Regions from separate parts of the Homo sapiens genome. Here regions 1, 2, 4, 5 and 6 are each linked to region 3. Evidence: promoter capture Hi-C in 16 types of primary human blood cells and fetal thymus (Javierre and others, 2016). All regions are on one chromosome and are shown on one strand. The core of a region is centred on a gene start or on the middle of the fragment in contact, and the rest is flanking DNA. Distances in the headings are between cores, read along the strand shown. Region 1 holds the start of CEP85 (centrosomal protein 85). Region 2 holds the start of FAM110D (family with sequence similarity 110 member D). Region 3 holds the start of ZDHHC18 (zDHHC palmitoyltransferase 18). Region 4 holds the start of STX12 (syntaxin 12). Region 5 holds the start of PDIK1L (PDLIM1 interacting kinase 1 like). Region 6 holds the start of TRIM63 (tripartite motif containing 63).

What was found. Contacts are between HindIII fragments. The CHiCAGO score rates a contact against its expected background, and 5 or more counts as called.
Region 1: a contact is called between the fragment with the promoter of CEP85 here and the fragment with the promoter of ZDHHC18 in region 3, in 4 of 17 cell types (total B cells, non-activated CD4 T cells, naive CD8 T cells and 1 more). The highest score is 11.2, in total B cells.
Region 2: a contact is called between the fragment with the promoter of FAM110D here and the fragment with the promoter of ZDHHC18 in region 3, in 4 of 17 cell types (fetal thymus, naive B cells, monocytes and 1 more). The highest score is 7.4, in fetal thymus.
Region 4: the fragment with the promoter of STX12 here is called in contact with the fragment with the promoter of ZDHHC18 in region 3 in 2 of 17 cell types (monocytes and neutrophils); the score reaches 8.1 in monocytes.
Region 5: a contact is called between the fragment with the promoter of PDIK1L here and the fragment with the promoter of ZDHHC18 in region 3, in 5 of 17 cell types (neutrophils, non-activated CD4 T cells, naive CD4 T cells and 2 more). The highest score is 7.9, in neutrophils.
Region 6: a contact is called between the fragment with the promoter of TRIM63 here and the fragment with the promoter of ZDHHC18 in region 3, in 3 of 17 cell types (fetal thymus, erythroblasts and megakaryocytes). The highest score is 7.5, in fetal thymus.

What each region holds. Positions count from the first base shown.
Region 1 is chr1:26,232,929-26,236,189 of GRCh38, reverse strand. CEP85 (centrosomal protein 85) reads right to left here and starts at 1,990. Exons shown (of 14, transcript NM_001319944.2): 1 at 1,880-1,990. RefSeq lists enhancers at 1,122-1,171, 1,262-1,321, 1,642-1,791. The HindIII fragment of the contact is 7,371 bases long and covers 1,152-3,261 here.
Region 2 is chr1:26,157,483-26,160,597 of GRCh38, reverse strand. It overlaps FAM110D (family with sequence similarity 110 member D), which reads right to left and starts at 1,519. Exons shown (of 2, transcript NM_024869.3): 1 at 1,472-1,519. The HindIII fragment of the contact is 9,541 bases long and covers 1-3,115 here.
Region 3 is chr1:26,825,200-26,828,245 of GRCh38, reverse strand. ZDHHC18 (zDHHC palmitoyltransferase 18) reads right to left here and starts at 1,558. Exons shown (of 8, transcript NM_032283.3): 1 at 1,107-1,558. The coding sequence starts at 1,441. RefSeq lists silencers at 1,291-1,500, 1,511-1,660, 1,624-1,776. The HindIII fragment of the contact is 7,154 bases long and covers 1-3,046 here.
Region 4 is chr1:27,771,357-27,774,511 of GRCh38, reverse strand. STX12 (syntaxin 12) reads right to left here and starts at 1,293. Exons shown (of 9, transcript NM_177424.3): 1 at 1,087-1,293. The coding sequence starts at 1,204. RefSeq lists enhancers at 456-956, 1,154-1,303, 957-1,457, 1,424-1,573 and a silencer at 834-1,043. The HindIII fragment of the contact is 7,984 bases long and covers 887-3,155 here.
Region 5 is chr1:26,110,211-26,113,095 of GRCh38, reverse strand. It overlaps PDIK1L (PDLIM1 interacting kinase 1 like), which reads right to left and starts at 1,272. Exons shown (of 3, transcript NM_152835.5): 1 at 1,181-1,272. RefSeq lists enhancers at 509-618, 999-1,228 and silencers at 1,279-1,918, 1,979-2,258. The HindIII fragment of the contact is 5,419 bases long and covers 1-2,885 here.
Region 6 is chr1:26,066,142-26,069,163 of GRCh38, reverse strand. TRIM63 (tripartite motif containing 63) reads left to right here and starts at 1,534. Exons shown (of 9, transcript NM_032588.4): 1 at 1,534-1,828; 2 at 2,724-2,896. The coding sequence starts at 1,670. The HindIII fragment of the contact is 10,936 bases long and covers 1-3,022 here.

The DNA.
Region 1 (3,261 bases), core at 741-3,240, 590 kb after region 3:
AGGTTTACAGTAGTGAAGGTCATATGGCTAGGAAGAGGCTTCAAAGCCAGGACTGTACTCTAACGCTACAGTAGTCTAGTCAGCATTCTACATGTGACAAAACACAAAAAAAGAGATCAAGCATGGCACCACAAGTTGGAGTTTCTGCCTCAGACAGCTAGAGCTGCAAGCCTCAATTATATGAGCAGTAAAAGCTCATAAAATTTCTTCACTTTGTCCTTGGTCATCACCTAGGCTTTATTTCTCAAGTTGCTACCCAAGAATTAGATTTTGACTGCCGTAAGTATTTTTCCCCTATAAGAATTACAATCTAAGTGTGGCCGGGCGTGGTGGCTCACGCCTGTAATCCCAGCATTTTGGGAGGCCGAGGCGGGCGGATCACCTGAGGTCGGGAGTTTGAGACCAGCCTGACCAACATGGAGAAACGCCGTCTCTACTAAAAATACAAAATTATCCGTGCATGGTGGCGCATGCCTGTAATCCCAGCTACTCGGGAGGCTGAGGCAGGAGAATCGCTTGAACCTGGGAGGCGGAGGTTGCGGTGAGCCGACATCGCGCCACGGCACTCCAGCCTGGGCAACAAGAGCAAAACTCCGTCTCACAAAAAAAAAAAAAAAAAAAAGAATTACAATCTAAGTGTGGAACATCATGCTTGGCAGCTGTTAAGAGAACCACATCAAGACAAGAGAGGATTTGAAGGGATACACAGACAGCTGACACAGACACACGAAGGATCTCACACCATTACACTATTTTCACCGCCTTGATCATTCATTAAACCTTGTGAAAGAGAAGCCAAATCCTTGACAAGAAGTTGCCTTTACAAAGAAAAGTCGTGAGACATACAAAACCACCAGATCACTATAAAGCAGACAAGGTTTGAGGGCAAATAAATGAGGCCTGGCTAGCTTCATCGTCCTTGTATCACCACCGCCCCCTACTTATCCCAGTGTTCAATTCATCAACCGAAATTTACTGCGTGCCTACTATGCGCCTGGCTCTGAGCCACGTGTTGGGAATGTACTGGTGTAAAGGATCGCTCTCATTAACTGAGGTGAAGTAAGCGTTGAATATACTGTTGAACAAATAAACCTGAACACACTAACTTTCAGTTCAACCAAAGCACCAGCTCCTTCTCGCTGAAGGAAGCTTCCTCACCTTCCGCCCTACTGACATTTTGGGGGATTTTTCTTTGTTGTTGGGGGCGTCCTACACACAGTAGGCTGTGTAACAGCATCCCTGGCTTCTTCGCACTAGATGCCAGTAGCAAGCCCTGGAGCTGTGACTATCAAAAGTGTTTCCAGACATCGACCAATGTCCCCAGGGAAGCAAAATCGCCCCGGCCGAGAAGTACCGGGGTAAGGCCCCGCCAAGTGCTTTCCGTCCCACAACCTTAATTCTCTACACAGCCTTCCAATCTCGGCTCAAACTTCTCCTCCTCGGGGAGGGCTCCCTGACCTCTCCGACTAGATCCGCGCCTTCTGTTTTGCGCTCTTTGTAAGATTTCTCCACTCTACCCTCACTGCGCGCCGAGGGATTACCCCGCTTAACGTCGACTCCCAGGGCTGTGCGCTCCGCAAGGGCAAGGAATGCGCCGCTCGCTGTGTCCCTGGCTATCGGCACAGGGCCTGGCACGCAGGTAAAGTGACTGCCGTGGGGTGAACCACGGACGGCAAAGCAAGGCAACGGGGGAAGCGAGGGGAATGGGACGCGAGAGGGCGTATGCCGGGGCACTGGCTTCGGAGCCGAGGCGCATGCGCTTCGCTCTCCCCGGCCCCTCACGGTGGCAGGTCGCGAGCGTCTGAGGCTTCGCCGGAGCTATGGGAGGAGAGGCAAGGTCGGCCACTAGGACTGAGGCTCCCGAAGGAGGAAAACTTACACGGGCCTGAAAGCGGGCGGCGAAATCCCTCACTCGGGAAGACTGACTGCAGCCACCACGTCTGCGGTGAGCGGTGGTTCCCTCCCTCAGCTCCTCTAACGGCCGTTGCACGCCCGCCAGGCCGCGCGCCACAGAACGCGCGTCGTTTGGCCCCACCCCGTTCTGCCGCCTCTGGCCAATCGGGAGTCGAGCCGCGCCGGCTTCCCGCCCCTTTCTATCCTCTTCTGACCAATCGGCAGCCGAGCCGCGTCGGTATCCCGCCCCCACACGCTACCCTCTGCTCAGAGAGCCGGACGGATCTTTCTGCGCATGACCACGTCGCCACTTGGCTCCTTCTCTGCCCCTTGCCGCGTTTTACCTGTAGGTGGAGCTCTGCTCACCTAGACCTGGAGGGGCCCTGCTGGGCCTGTGCAGGTTGGGAAGCTGGCGGCCCGCGGGCGGGGCTGGGGACACGAGAATCCCACTCAGCTTGCCTCACCCTCCTTCCATTCCAACGCCGGTCTATCAGTTCTCACACCTGAAGCAGGGGTTCAGGTTGTGACCAGGAGTTAGGGTGTGGCCTGGGTCACTGACTAGTCAGGGTCAAGGCTTGGTCTGGGTTGGACGCAGTGGTCAGCCTGTGACCAAGGTTCAGGTTGAAGGGTAAAGGATCAGTCCTGCCTCCCTCCCCAAACTTGGTCCACAGGAAAAGGAACTGTTAAGTCCATTTGCATTAATATGCGCTTGAAGAGTCAGACAGGAAAATTGTTTGAAAGGAGAACAGAACCATCAGCCAAAGGAATGAATCTCAGATAGTGAAATTCTGGGTATCTAGAAACCTGACTTGGCAGGGAGAGATACTAAAAAATTGTATAGGAGGCCGGGCGCGGTGGCTCATGCCTGTAATCCCAGCACTTTGGGAGACAGAGGAGGGCGGATCACGAGGTCAGGAGATCGAGACCATCCTGGCCAATATGGTGAAACCCCGTCTCTACTAAAAATACAAAAATTAGCTGGGTGTGGTGGCGCATACCTGTAATCCCAGCTACTCGGGAGGCTGAGGCAGCAGAATCGCCTGAACCAGGGAGCCGGAGGTTGCAGTGAGCCGAGATCGTGCCCCTGCACTCCAAAAAAAAGTTGTATGGAAAAAAAAAGTTGTATAATTTCTTAGCTTTAAGAGCCAGACAAAGTGAGTTCATTACTGAATAAAAGTCACTCTAGAGGAAAGACCCTAGGGATGTGCCCCAAGGTTGTATCCTTTGTCCTCTCTTTTAGTATTTTAAGATAAGAATATAGAAGACATAAAATAGCAGATTTAATGGATAATGAAAATGAACCTGGGTATGATATGAAATTAGGACCAGAAGCCTCTGTTAACGTAAAGGCTAAAAAAAAAAATGTTA
Region 2 (3,115 bases), core at 270-2,769, 670 kb after region 3:
ACCTTTGCATTTCCATTTCATGAAGAGGAAACTGGCTTGGAGAGGAGGGGGGCTTGCTCAGGTCCTATTGAGAGTTAGGAGCCAGGACTGGAACCCAGGTTTCTTTTTTTTTTTTCTTTAGACGGAGTCTTGCTTTGTCACCCAGGTTTCTTGCCTTGCAGTTCAGATTGGATCTCTCACTTGCCTATCAGAACTTCCCACTGAGGCCAGGCGCGATGGCTCATGCCTGTAATCCCAGCACTTTGGGAGGCCGAGGTGGGTGAATTACCTTAGGTGAGGAGTTCCAGACCAGCCTGGCCAACATGGCAAAACCCCATCTCTACTGAAAATACAAAAATTAGCCAGGCGGGGTGGCGCACACCTGTAATCCCAGCTACTTGGGAAGCTGAGGCAGGAGAATCGCTTGAAGCTGGGAGGCGGAGGTTGCAGTGAGCCGAGATCGCGCACCACTGCACTCCAGCCTGGGCAACAGAGCGAGACTCCGTCTCAAAAAAAAAAAAAGAAAAAAAAAAAGAACTCACTGATATTTTGCGTGTATTCCCGCTGCTATAAAACCAAGCAATTTCCGTTAGAAATGGGCCCCTTGCCTCACTAAAAAGTTCCTTCCACTAATTCTTCCTAATAACCTGCGCTCCCACTCCCAGAAATTTGCCCCCAGGGTCCTTGTCCCTTTTTTATCCTAAGACCTCATGACCCTTTTCCACCTCCCTTCTGCTGGGGCAAGGAGCGAGGAGGGGTTGTAAATCAAGAGCTGACAGTTCTCTTGGCAGTAACAGAATGGGCCACCCACATGGCCCTGCACACCCGACCCCACCCCTATCTTCCCCTACTCCCCCTGAGTCCTGGAGGCTGAGGGACCTTGGATCTGGGGACAACAAAGGAACAGAATTAGCCAGGGAAGTGGGGAAGGAGTCTGTGAGAGGCCTTGGGGCAGAGACCCTGCCAGGTCCAGCCCACCCCTGCACCCAGCATCTAGTGTGTAGTCAGTCTGCTCATAGGTAGTTGAGGCCTGGGAACCAAGGAGAGTCTGGCAGTGTCCCCCTCCCTGTCTCCCAGGGAGTCTCCTTGGCAGTGGGTCAGATTCCAAGGTCCCAGGAAGGCACTGCTTGTCTGACCCCATGGGTGCCCTCTGTCCTCTCCTCTTCTCCCCAGCCCTGAGCAGGGAGACTATAAAAAGTTCCTAATCACAAGGACCAAAATAGTCTGTCATCCACAGCCTCTTCCCTGCCTTCTGGGCTAGCCTGGAGGCCGGACCTCAGACATCCCGCCCTAGAAGCCTGGCAGGCAGCCTCGGGCCCTCCATTCCTTTGCCTGCCTTCTCCCAGTCCTGAAACTTGTGGTCTCAACTCTGCCCAAGGCTTCTGCTCTGGGCATGGGCCATCTTTTAGGCTCACTAGTTTGGCACCAGTCTCCCTGCCCTCAGGCCCCTGGGTTCCTTCTTACCCCAGCCCTGGGCTCAGGGTACACTCACCTCTGCATGGGAGGCCTAATTGCAGGGGTCCTTGGGCAGGTCCAGACTGAGGGCAGGAGTGGACAGCAAGGACTAGAAGTAACTTTGGTGGCAGCCAAACCTCACTCTCCACAGGAAAAGCAGAGAAAGCCTCCACCCCCCGCCCCCCAAATTAACCCTCGCCTTCCTGAGGCAGATCCTGGCCTCCATTAACTCTTTCCTGATCACAGTCCTGCGCTGTGGAGACCTGTGAACCAAGTCCAGCTCCTTTTATTTTACAGATGGTCAAACAGTCCCAGCCCGGTTAGGTGATTGGCTGTGGAAGCACTGTGAGCTTGGGCAGAGCCAGGACTCCAAACAAGGCCTCCTGATCCCCAGGCTTCCTCCAAAGGCCTGGGGTGGGGGCTCCGTATGTGGGATCAGCCCCCTCCCTGGGCTGTGGCAGATGCTCTGACAGTCTGAATGGGAAGGCAGAACAGGGTTCTAGTCAACTTGCTTTTTTCCCTCTGTAGCAGGCTGAGACCTGTCTTGGTCTGGGTGCTGGGTGGTGTCAAGCCTGCTTTCCCTGGGGGCGAGACCAGGAATCTGCAGCCTAAGGGTGGGGGCATTGGTGCTATAGATGTGCAGGTGAGCCTGTGGCGGCAAGTCTTGTCATGAAGGTGACCCTGGAGCCCACTGGAGCTGCCTCTGCCAAGGTCCTTTCATGGCAGATGGGATTGCCTGGGAAGACAGTGATGAGGGGCTGATTCCAGGGCCAAGCCCAGGTCCTTTGGCCCGCTTCCTTCTCTGCCCACACTTGGAGCCTCTTAGAGCTTCTTCCATCAGAGTTTCTTCTCTGACACCTTATGTCTCAAGGTGAAACCCTACCTCATAGGAGACACCTCCCCTCTCCCCAGCAGGCAAACTAAACTCTCCAGCCCAGACTAAGACCAGTGCTCAGGCCAAAGGTTCCTTTCCCCCCTTGGCTGGCCACCTTCCCCAAGTCCCTCCTCCTCCTTTCTAGCCCTCTTTCATGTTTGCAAAGCACATTCCCGTCTGTGCTCTCTGATCTCCTTTGACCGCCCCCAAACAAGGACCCTAGACAGGCGTCCAGCAGGAATGACCCCCCACTTAATGAGTAAGGAAACAGGAGCTGAGGGGGGAGAGAGATGCCCAAAGCCCAGCTCCAAATCCACATTTGGAACTGCATCCTCTGCCTGTCAAGTCAGTAGTGGGTCTGAAAACCCAAGGCCCATCTCCCGGTAAAAGGTTTTTATTACCTAAAGGGGGGATTTTGTTGGTGATAGTTCCATATTTTGTTGCTACAGCACTTTTCAAAATGCCATTAGCTGCTTTGTCATAATCCCCATGACAATCTTTGGGGGAGGTTTTATTATTTTTCACACTTACGGCTGAAGAGACTGAGGCTCAGAGAGGAGAAATGACTTATCCAAGCTCACCAAACTCTGTCACCCAGGCTGGAGTGCCGTGACGTGATCTTGGCTCACTGCAACCTCCGCCTCCTGGGTTCAAGCGATTATCCTGCCTCAGCCTCCCGAGTAGCTGGGATAACAGGCAAGTGCCTGGCTAATTTTGTGTTTTTAGTAGAGACAGGGTTTTACCATGTTGCTCAGGCTGATCTTGAACTTCTGACCTTGCGATCTGCCGGCCTCGGCCTCCCAAAGT
Region 3 (3,046 bases), core at 309-2,808:
AGTTGGGAGGGGACAGCAGGGCTTATGAAGCAAGGGTGGGTGGGTGGGCGTGTGAGTGTGTGTGCAAGGAATCACAGTGCAGGTGGCTCAGAGGTGGGTGGAAAACTTCTAATACAAATATATGACCCTCCATCCATAAAATGGAGATTATGTGTGGGCCAATCCTGGGTCACCGGGGGATATGAAGAGGACAAAAACCTAGGGGGGCAAATATGACCTGTCACACGAAAGCACTCCGAAGTCTTTCCTGAAAAACAACAAGGCACCGCAGCTGTTGCTGATGTGGAACAGGCCAGAGGGACGTTCCAGAATGTTGAGCAGGGAAAGAAAGCCAGGTGGTCAGCAGGGGGGCCAGGGGCCTGGGAGCCGGCTGGGTGGAGGCGGGCGGGATCTGAGGGAAGGACAGGAAGCTCTGGAGAACCTAAGGAAGGTTCTGGAGAAGGAAAGGGGGCCCGAGAGGCCCAAAGATTTTGAGAAAAGATGCCTTGGGGCCTAGGGTGTGCGTGGCTGAGGGGAAGCAAAAGCGGGGTTGGTGTCTGAGACTAGAGAAAAGGAGGGGACCCTGGAGGGACCCGGAGAGGGCAGCGAGGATGACTAGGATGTTTATGGTGGGTGTGCACAGCCAAAGGACACACAAGATCTAGAAGTGGTCAGGAAGGGATACAAGGGTCAGAAAGAACTTGGGGGGTTGGCAAGAGATGGTCCAGGGATGGGTGAGCAGGAGGGGCCTGTTCAAGAAGCCCTGGGGCAGGTTCTGAGAGGGCAGCGAGGATGGGGGCCGTGGAGGGGCATGGAGGCTGGTGTTCCTGGCAGTGGCAGGCAGACAGGTGCCAGGGTGGGGTCAGGGAGAATGGAGGGGCTGGGAGGGTGGAGGGCACCAGCGCGGATGGGGTACCCAAATGGACCAAGGAGGATGGGGCATCTGGCGGGGATGGGGGTGCGCAGGGGCCAGGGGGGCAGACAAGAGGCCCGAGGAGGATCCCAAAGGGGCGGGGAGGATGAGGACCAGGGAGGCGAAGGGGAAGGCACGGAGTGCCCAGCAGGGATTGGGAAGGTGGGGTGCGCGGCAGGGGGCTGGGAGGGGGCGCCGAGGCAGCGGAACTCACTCAAAGACGAAGAAGAGGCCGGTGGTGGTGAGGATGAGCAGCAGCGTGAGCGCGAAGACGCCGCCGTGGCCGGCCAGCATGAGGCGGCCGCCGCAGTAGAAGCGATTGCGACCCGGGAACACCTCCCACTTGCGCCGTGGGCGGCGGCCGAGGCTCCCGCTCCCGCTGCCGCTGCCGCTGCCGCTGCTGCTCCAGCGCGGCGGGGCGGGGGCGGCGGGCGGCGCGGGCCCGGGGCCCGGAGTCGGGGACGCGGCGGGGCCGGGACGGCGCGCCCCCGGGGAGGCGGGCAGCGGGGCGGCCCCGGGGCTGATCTGCTGGTACTCGCAGTCCTTCATGCAGCCAGCCGCGGGCCTCGGCTCCGCGCCCCGCGGGCCGGCCGGGCCACTCCGGGACCGGGCCGAGCAGCGGAGGTGGCAGCGGCGGCGCGCGCGGCGCTCGCTCGCTCACTCACTGGGGCGGCCCCGCCATCGCTCCGCCCCCGGCCCGCCGCCACCGCCCGCCGCGGCCTCCCGCCGCAGCGCCCCCTCCGCCTGGGCCCGGGATGGCGCTTGGCCGGAGGCCCAGCTCTGACCCGCGGCGGGGCCCCGCAGGTCCCCGGCCCTCCCAGTCTCCCTTTTCCCTTCTGCACAAAGAGGGGGCCAGCAGACGCGCACTCGAGGGCTCTTTCTGTTCTGCAAGCAAGCCGTTTGTTGGGCGTCCACTGTGTACCAGGCACGGTGCCAAACGCCGAGATTCAGGTGGTGGACTTCGTGATCTACTTCTGGCAGTCTGTAATTCCCCAGGCTTCGCCCATCTCTGAGGGTCGAACTGACAGGCATTTGCAGAGGCAGGCAGGCGCGGGGAGGTGGGGCACACGATTTGCTTTGAAAGCCAGGACCTCTTCTACCTTGAAGTCCAGAGTGCCCACTGGAGGTGTGTGGCACACCCTCTGGCCTCGTTCACCAAGTTCTGTGTCCTGGGCCCAGGCCCAGATTTTCCTAGGTAGCACATAATGTAGAGGGGTCATGCCTGAGGGCCCCAGTGTTTTTTCAGGAATTCTGGGAGTATTCATTTTCTACTGCTGTGTAACAAGTTACCACAAATTTAAGGCTTAAAACAAACATTATCGGCCGGGCGCGGTGTCTCACGCCTGTAATCCCAGCACTTTGGGAGGCCGAGGTGGGTGGATCACAAGGTCGAGAGAGACCATCCTGGCCAATATGGTGAAACCCCGTCTCTACTAAAAATAAAAAATTAGCTGGGCATGGTGGCACGGCATCTATAGTCCCAGCTACTCGGGAGGCTGAGGCAGGAGAATTGCTTGAACCCAGGAGGTGGAGGTTGCAGTGAGCCGAGATTGTGCCATTGCACCCGGCCTGGTGACAGAGCAAGACTCCGTCTCAAAAAAAACAAAAAACAAACGTTATCTAACAGGTTCCAGGTCAGGAGCCAGAGAACAGCTTAGCTGGGTCCTCTGCTTAGTCTCACAAGGCTGCAATCAGGCTGCATTCTCATCTGGAGACTCAGCCAGGGAAGAATCCACTTGCAAGCCCATTTGGGTTATTGGCAGAATTAACTTCCTTGCGACTGTTTAACTGAAGAGGGCCTGGGATTTTTGCTGGGTGACTGTATAACTGAGGAGGGCCTGGGATTTTTGCTGGGTGTCTGCTGGAGGCCTCTCTCAGGATCCAAAAGCCACCTGCAGTTCCTAGAGATTATCACATTTCCTTGCCATGCAGGTTTCTCCTACATAGCCACTTAGTTTCTTGAAACTGACAATGAGGGTCTCTAGCTCCAGACTATGATGATAGAGTTTTATATAACTTACTATATATGTGACAGAGTGGCATCCCATCATCATTGCCATCTCCTATGGTTAAAAGCAAAGCACAGGAGCCATCTGCACTCAAGAAAAGGGAATCACACAAGGCGTAAATACCAGGAGGCAGGAATCATTGGGG
Region 4 (3,155 bases), core at 44-2,543, 950 kb before region 3:
AACGAAAGCAAAGTGACACTCTTTAAAATATAGAATATAATTGTAATTCAGGACTAACTAGTTCTACCTATTAACAGAGTACGCCAAGCTCACAAAACAATAATAAACAACAAGGATGATGACCACCATTCTTTCCAAGTAAAGCTGCTGCTGATCTCCTGTTTATAAGGCTCCAAGATGATTTTCAAGCACAAGAAACACCCTGTATTTGACTCATTCAGCTACAGTTTCACTCAGACCCTAATGGGGAGGAGGGAGTTTTAAGACAAGCAATAGCATTCTGAATTCCACCAACAACTCTACCATGCCTTACTTGCTATGTGGTTGTGGCTAAGTGTCTTAGCTTCCCTGTGTACCAGATTTGTTCAAGAGCAGCTAAGTAGGGAAGGAAAACAAAAGCCTCATCTGCCTGAAATCCAAAAATACACCCCAATTATTTGTTACAAAAGACAAAATAATGTAAATTGAAATGCTGTTGGTGAATTCTCTTTATTAAAATGAAGTCATCCCACCTTTCAAATACCAGTCATTGTGTCTGATTTCCGAATTCATTACAGGAAGAACTGTGTATGAAGTCACCCAAACACATGCACTCTCCACTTCCCTTAATTGAAAGTTGCTGATTTCCGAGGAGCCAGGGGCTGAGCAGAATGTAAACCTAAAGGCTAAATCAGTAAACAACCCCATCCAAACTGGTCTAAGAGGAAAGCGAGGTGGGTGGGGAGGAAGGTGGGTGACAGGAGAAACTCGGCTGACCACTGCGCCAAGTCAACGCACTCACAGCTCTCGAGGTGACACACACTCCCCTTCCCACCCTCGGGCTGTCAAGTCGGCTGTTTTGGTCCCAGCACCGTGGGGGCAGAACTCCAGAGAAGCAGCTCAAGCTTCAGCTGGGGCCGGGGACCCTCGGGCAACCCGGGCCTGACAGATTGGGGGATGGCAGCCCACCGCCCCCAGGGTGGACAGCCCGAGACAGCCCCAGGTGTGGCCTCGGCCGTAGCCCCAGCCGGGCCCTGCGTCCCGGCAGCCTCACCCAGGCCTGTCCCCGGGACAGCTCCCGCCCCCCAGCTCGGTACCCCGGCTCACTGGCTTGGCTGATCCGCTGGATGTTGCCGCTGCACGTCTGGATGATGCTGCTGAAGTCCCGGAGCTGGGGCCCCGAGGGCCCCGGGTTCCGGTACATGTCTAAGGGACCGTATGACATGACGAGGAGCTGAGACCTGCTCGCTCTACACCGCTCTCCTACCGGAAGCAGCCGCCAGCCGGGACCCGCAGGCTGACGGAGAAACTGGGAAGAGCAAGGGCGGGGAAGGAGCTAAGGCTGCGTGCGCACTAGCCCCGCCCTCACGCGGCGCGCACGCGTCCTCCCCGCCCCGGTCCAAAGTGCGCAGGCGCCGCTGGGACTGGAGCTGGGACTGGAGCTGGGACTGTAGCTTAGAGACAGGACTCCCCGAGGCTTGGGGATGCAGGGCGGGGAGATGACGTCACCTAGTTGGGGCTGAGATTGGATGAGCTTGGGTGGAGGTGTTGTTTCTCGCCAGGGCACAGTGACAAGAGGCAAGAATTTTCGATTTGCATAAAACTGTACCAGATGATCTCAGCCCTTACATCCTATTCTGTTCTGAGAATTCAGGCCCAAATATGGGAGAATTCAACGTTGAAACTCAGACCCGGAACCAAATCGTAACCCGAAATTCCTCTCTACTTCCATCCCCAGGGCTTTGGTAGTGTTTGGGGTTTCCAAACCACTTTCATTTCTCCCTCCACCCCTCTTCTAATCTAAACAATAAAATAATGTTTATTGAGCACATACTATGTGAATCCTCACCGCAATTCACTTGTTCATAAGATTTTTCACAGCAGGGGACGATGCTCTATCTATATTTTTATCATTAGAATAGATAACGGAGAGTCGGTTTTTTAAATGTTGAAGTAAAGTAATTCATCAAAGTAAGCATTATTATTTTCCCTCTTACCGATGAGAAAATTAAGACCAGCGAGGTTAGTTCGCCTTGCTGAAATTTGACTGCAAAACCCAAACGCTAAGCTGACTCTCTCCTCACCTCGCTACTTCTCTAAAATTCATTCTCGTCTAAATCTCTCCCAAATAGCTCGTTCATCTATATCCCAAGCCGGGATATCTTGGAGAACTAGATTCCTAAAATTTAAAAATCGTTCCCTTAAGTAATTTGGAATGCATGACCTCAATGTTCCCACAGAAAACTGCATTTTTGTAAGCCTATGTTAAAAGGAAAGACATAGGATTTTGGTTTGGGAGGAGATCAAGATAGTGAGAAGTGAAGGGGAACTGGCTGCGTTTCCTGTGTTCTACACCCCACCCCACCCCACCCCAGCCTGCTTTGTAGTCTTTGGAAAATGCAAAGACAGAAAGCTGCTTGCCTGGATGAAAGGAGACCCAAAGTGAATGAGCCTGTATATGGCCTTAGGATTTTTTCTTTATTTTATTTTTTTTGAGACAGGGTCCCGCTCTGTCACGCAGGTTGGAGTGCAGTGGCGCGATCTCTGCTCACTGCATCCTCCTTCTCCTGGGCTCAGGAGGTCCTACCACCTAACCTCTGAGTAGCTAGGATTACAGGCGTGCGCCACCACGCCCAGCTAATTTTTATATTTTTTGTAGTGTTGGGGTTTGGCCATGTTGTCCAGGCTGGTCTCAAACTCCTGGGCTCAAGCAATCCACCCACCAGCCTTAGGATTTTTTAAGGGTGACTATCTCTATTTTTCGTTGGAGAATTTATGAGAGCATTTTTTTTCCCTGTCTCTAGAAAGAGACGGATGACATTTGGGGACTCTTATTTTGGTTATTTTATTTTATTTTATTTTTGAGACAGAATCTTGCTCTGTTGCCCAGGCTGGAGTGCAATGGCGCAATCTCGGCTCAATGCAACCTCCGCCTCCTGGGTTCAAGCGATTCTCCTGCCTCAGCCTCCCGAGTAGCTGGGATTACAGGCGTGTACCACCACGCCCGGGTACTTTTTGTATTTTTAGTAGAGATGGGGTTTGACCATGTTGGCCAGGCTGGTCTCGAACTCCTGACCTCAGGTGATCCACCCGCCTCGGCTTCCCAAAGTGTTGGGATTACAGGCGTGAGCCACCGCACCCAGCCTGTTTTGGTTATTATTATAAAACCTTACCGT
Region 5 (2,885 bases), core at 23-2,522, 710 kb after region 3:
GTCATAAGACAGCTGGAGTAAACAATATCTATTTAGTTCTAGGTCATTTTTGCCAACAAAGATCCTGCATATCAAGGGGCTCTCTGACAGAGTTCTTGGGAATTCAACTTACTGAACGGTTTAAAGGCGAGGGCAAAGGCCCTGCACAGAAATGCTCATGTGTTGAATGGAGAAAGTCTAAAGTGGGCTTCCTCAGCGCCCAAAGAATTTCTAGATTATAACCAACTTCATGAACGAATTCTCATTTGTAGATTGTGACCACGGGCTAGAAAAGTAACCTGAGATTGTACAATATTTATTCTGTACAGCTGGGGAAGCAAAAGGCTACTGACCCTAGAGCCTGAGAAGTTGGGATCCACTGCTTTAAGTCTACAGGATAGATTTAATAAAAAGAAATGACTTCTGAGATTGTGTTCAGTCCCACTTCCTCTAACTGGACACCCACCCTTCAAATCGCTACTGAATTTCCTAGTGTCTAATTTCCTGCCACAGAATCCTCTGCGCCGGCTGCACAGCAGACGAGCTTTCCTGCTCTACGGGGATCGCCAATCACATCCACTCAAGGTGGTTCGTGTCTCTGAAGCAGTGCCATGTCCTCTCCAGCCTGGTACAGTCCCCATGGGGAAGAGCACCTTCCTGAATAGGGAGGAGAGAGGTGTTTATGAAACCCGTGGGATCCCGGATCCAATGATGCATCCGATGCGAACCTAAGTGACTTTCGACCGAAAGTGGCGGGCCCTCGCTCCCGCTGCTCTAACCAGGCGCTGGGACGCGAGCCGGCCAGGCCAGACACCTGCCGGCGCCCGGGAAGGGCCAGTCGCGGCCAGAGGTGTTGCCCGACGCGGCGGCTCAGGCCGCGCTCATTGGCCAAGTGTCAGGCCCTCCCCCTCCTCGGCCGTGCTCAGATGAAGCCCGGAGGGGAGCCTCCTGAGCCCCTTCGCTCTGAGGAGCCAGCCCTGCAGTTGCCTCAACTCCTCGGGGCTGGGGGCTGAGGGCCGGGGGGAGGTGGCCCCGGTATGAGAGGAGGCCGCGACTGGGGTCGGTGGCCTGAGGAGCGCAGGGCCTTCCCCAGGATGACTCCGCTGACACGTCTGTGACAAGCCTCCCAGGGAGGGAGGCACATGCAGGGCCATCGGCTCTGCAGCAAGACCTCTCCGCCACGCCGAAAGGCCAGATTTACCTCAGGGTAGACGCTGCCGCTTCTCCCTCTCATGGGCTCTGCAGGCCGCCATTATCGGGCAGCTCGCGCCTCCGCTGCCGCCGCCTCCAGTCAGCAGCCGGCGCGCGCCCCCGTGGTGCGCGCGGACACACCCCCTTACGCCGACGGCCCCGCCCCCCTCCGGCTTTCCGTAGCGCGAGCCGGGACGTTCCGCGCCACCGACGAGGCGCGCGGCCGGCGCTCCGCTCGCCTCCTCCCTCTCTCGAGGATTTGCAGAGCCGGGAGTCGTCGGAGGTGTGCGCGCTCCGGAGCGCACCACTGGTGCTGCTCCCCGCAGGGGTGGCCGGGCTCGGGAACCGCGAGGCCACGCCACGCCGGGGCTCGGCCACCCTCCAGCCGCAGCGGGCGCTCAGGGCCCGCGGCCCCGGGGACCGTCTGCAGCGGCAGGTCCGGGCCTGGGGCTGCGCGCGCCCGGCCGCGGCCTCCCCTCCCTCTACCCGCCCCCTTCCGACCTACCGAGCTGCGGGCTGGGGTGCGGGGCTCGCTGGGGTGGAACGCCCGGTGCATCTTCCGCGCGGGTCTCGGGTGCCTGCGGGGCGCGGTGCTCTTTGGCGGGCCTGCGGGGAGGTGCGGCCCGACCAAGGAGGCCTGGCGTCCGCCCCGCCGGGAGGGAGACTGCAGCTTTTCTCCGAGTCACTGAGCCATGTTTGCGGGCGGTGCAGTTGCGGAGACGGCGGCGGCGGCGGCGGCGCGGGGCTGGGTGCGATCATCTGGGAGGATGCCGTCCCCTGCCCCGCCGGCGCGGTGGTATCTCCCTTAAAGAGGCCGGCGCCTCATTGTTCCCCGGCTGCGGCCGCAGGGAGCCAGGGCCACCTCCTCGGCGTGGGGAGTGAGGGCGCGGAGGCGCCTGCACCTGGCTGCGGTGCCCACGGCGCCCCCCCGCGAGGCTCCTGGTGGAGGGTTGGTCTGCAGTCGGCGCAGGGGAGAGGCCTTGGTCCGAGCCAGGATCCACCGCGCTCCTGCCGCTCTCGGGGCTGGACAGTCAATGGGGTCCCCGCCGCTGCTGCAGTCGCTCGGCTGCCACACGCTGTTAGTCAGATCCCGCACGCTGTTGGCCCCACAGCCAGCCCGGGGTCACTTAGGACCGCATTCCTCAGTCATCCAGTTGTTAGATCAGTAAGCATCCGCCAGAAAAGTCCATTCCTTCTTACTCGATTTATTCTGCACCCATTACTTCTCAGCAGGGTGATGATTCCTCCTCCCAGCGCTCGCTCTGTAAGGCACGATGTACAAAAAATCCCTGTCGCTGTGCTCAAAGATCAACTCATTTTATTTTCTGTCCTTTATGCCCCTTCTCCCGAGAGTCTGGCACTGGGTTAGGTCTTTATATAAATGATCTTGCTTAATCCTAACCAAACCCCACAAGAGTAGGTTTTATTATCCTGTTTTTACAGGTGAGGAAACACCTCTGCCTCTTCTCACTGAAGTGTCTGTTTTGGGATGTGTCTACCTTGAATACCCATTCCTGGTGTAACACACCCTCCCCTTAAAAAAAAAAAACAACAACGGTTCTGTAATCTGTTCAGATTTTTGTCCTGAGTGCCATCCAAGTGTCAAGTCTTCAGCTGTTTGCTGGAAACACTGGTGTCAGCCAAGACTTATTTCCCGCCCTCAAAAGTAGAGGGAAAATATAGAAGGCTCTGCGTAGACAGCTAACTACCTGTGT
Region 6 (3,022 bases), core at 285-2,784, 760 kb after region 3:
CTAATTTTTGTATTTTTAGTAGAGACAGGGTTTCACCATGTTGGCCAGGATGGTCTCCATCTCCTGACCTCGTGGTCTGCCCACCTCGACCTCCTAAAGTGCTGGGTTTACAGGCGTGAGTCACTGTGCCCTCTGGGTTTTTCCTTTCTATCTCCCTTCCTGGGCTGTGAGTTTCTTGGGGCAGGGAAACAGATCACTCATCCATCTGTCACGTTGTGATGTATACTAGTTACCTGATGTATACTAGTACTCAGAAAAATGTCTGATGAATGAATAAAATTTCTGTCTTTGCCACTTATTTTCTTTCTTTTTTGTTTTGTTTTGTTTTGTTTGGAGATGGCGTTTCACTCTTGTCACCCAGGCTGGAGTGCAGTGGCGCGATCTCAGCTCACTGCAACCTCCACCTCCTGGGTTCAAGTGATTCTCCTGCTTCAGCCTCCTGAGTAGCTGGGATTACAGGCGCGTACCACCACACCCAGCTAAGTTTTGTGTTTTTAGTAGAGACAGGGTTTTACCATGTTGGCCAGGCTAGTCTCGAACTCCTGACCTCAAGTGATCCACCTGCCTCAGCCTTCCAAAGTGCTGGGATTACAGGTGTGAGACACCACGCCCGGCTGCCACTTACTTTCCAACTGACTTTGAATATAATCCTTTTCTTCTCTAGTCCCATTTCAAAATCTGTAAGATGAGGGGACTGGACTGTGTTTCAAAGGAGGCTTTTCAGCACTAAGTGAAATAAGTGGCCGAGGGATGGAGGATGGGCTGGTTGGAGTGGGGGTCTCCATCATCTCCAGCAAAATGCTGTGCTGAAGTCTGAGGCAGAGGGATGGGCTCAGAGAGAGGGGCTGCCCGACCCTTCCATCTAGGAGCTGCCCAGGACTCCAGAGGAGGGGATGGAATTGATTTAGGTCAGTGAGGGGTTGCGTGGGGCTGGGAGGGGGTTGAGGTTGGGAGGCTGAAGGAGGAGACTCCCTTCAACCTGGGAGGTGGAGGTTGCAGTGAGCAGAGATCGTGCCACTGCACAATCCTTTCTATCTCCCTTCCTGGGCTGTGAGTTTCTCGGGGCAGGGAAACAGATCACTCATCCATCTGTCACGTTGTGATGTATACTAGTTGCCTGATGTATATACTAGTACTCAGAAAAATGTCTGATGAATGAATAAAATTCATTCATCGAACATTTTCATCATAGCATTGGCTATTAACCCCTTGAATCCCCGTGGCTCACTTGCTGGGTCCCATCCCTGACCCACTAGCCTGGTGCCGGGGGGAGACCAATTTCTGGAGGAAGCTCTGGGTACCCAGTCTTGCCCTAAGCCTGCCTCTGAACAGGCTGTTCTTGTTTATGACCCCCGTCCCAGCAGAATAGTGATTGCTCATCCCTGCATGTGATTTGAGAGGGCCAGTCTTTCAGGCCTGGAGGAAACTCAAGCCCCACCAGCCGCTTGGCATCGGAATGCTCAGCTGGTCCCCTCCTGGGGCTCATGTGACCAAGATCTAGCTATAAATATCAGAGGGGCCTCAGACCAAGACAGAATTCGGGCACCAGGAGAAGGAAGCCAACAGGATCCGACCCGGTGTTTTGTGACAAAGGCAAGACCCCCAGGTCTACTTAGAGCAAAGTTAGTAGAGGAGGCAGCTAGGCGTGGCTCTCATTCCTTCCCACAGAATGGATTATAAGTCGAGCCTGATCCAGGATGGGAATCCCATGGAGAACTTGGAGAAGCAGCTGATCTGCCCTATCTGCCTGGAGATGTTTACCAAGCCAGTGGTCATCTTGCCGTGCCAGCACAACCTGTGCCGGAAGTGTGCCAATGACATCTTCCAGGTAAGTGCCGGGTGCAGCTTCATTTGGGGTCCCCAGGTGGCTACTTGGCTTCCCTGTGATGAAACCCTTCTCCCTTAGACTTCCAACCTGGACAGCCTCTTTCCCCTTGGAAGTGAACCCCTGCAGAGGCCTCTGGACAGGGCTGAGAGGGGGCTGGGAGGCGGCTCTGGCTGCTGCGGTTCTTCTCCATAACACAAGTTTCCCCTCCCTGCCCTGCCCACAGCTCCCCCACCCCTGCCCTGAGCACTGCTGTTGACTCTCCAATCAAGAGTCAAATGCCTCAAGTGATAAGCGGGGTAGGCAGGGACAGGAGAGAGAAACCAGACCCCTGGGGCTGGAGCCAGGTCCTGGTGGCAAGAGGCCCAGAGCTTTGGGAGGAGGGTGTCAGGGAGGCAGTGGGCAGTAGAGGCATCTTCCCTTTTGAGGCTGTTCCCTATGATATGGGGGCAGAAGGGGCTCCAACTCCCCGAGAAAGGAAGGGGGTAGATGTCCTGGCTGGGAGGCAGGATGCGAGGTTCCCCATGGACACTTTACAAAATGTTCTTTCACGATATTATCTTTAAAGTAGCAGCCTTAGGAGCTTGCTCTCATTGTAATACCTATTTCATAAGTGGGCAAACTGAGGCCTACACAGATAAGGTTGCTTGCCCAAAATCACTCAGAGAATAAACATGACTTGAACCCAGGTCTCCTGCCTCCCCATCCTGACGATTGCTTAGCTGCTTCTCAGGTGCTCTGTGTGTGAGGACTGGTTCTCATCACAGTCTGCAGAGCTCCAGGTTGTTAGGTTTGACGGGGGTGGTTCGGATAGGCAGAGGAAAGGATAAGAGGAGATTAGAAAAGAGAAGGGCTAAGTAGGGAGCCCAGGCCTCACCTTGACCTTTGCCACCTGCAGGCTGCAAATCCCTACTGGACCAGCCGGGGCAGCTCAGTGTCCATGTCTGGAGGCCGTTTCCGCTGCCCCACCTGCCGCCACGAGGTGATCATGGATCGTCACGGAGTGTACGGCCTGCAGAGGAACCTGCTGGTGGAGAACATCATCGACATCTACAAACAGGAGTGCTCCAGGTCGGTTCTCGTGCCTGCTGGGGGCCCGCCCTCCTTCCCAGCCATGCTGTGCCTAGATCCCCCACGCTCCTTCCCCCTCCTTCATCTGCTCAGGATCCAGGCCTCTAGCTGGACTAGCTACACAAG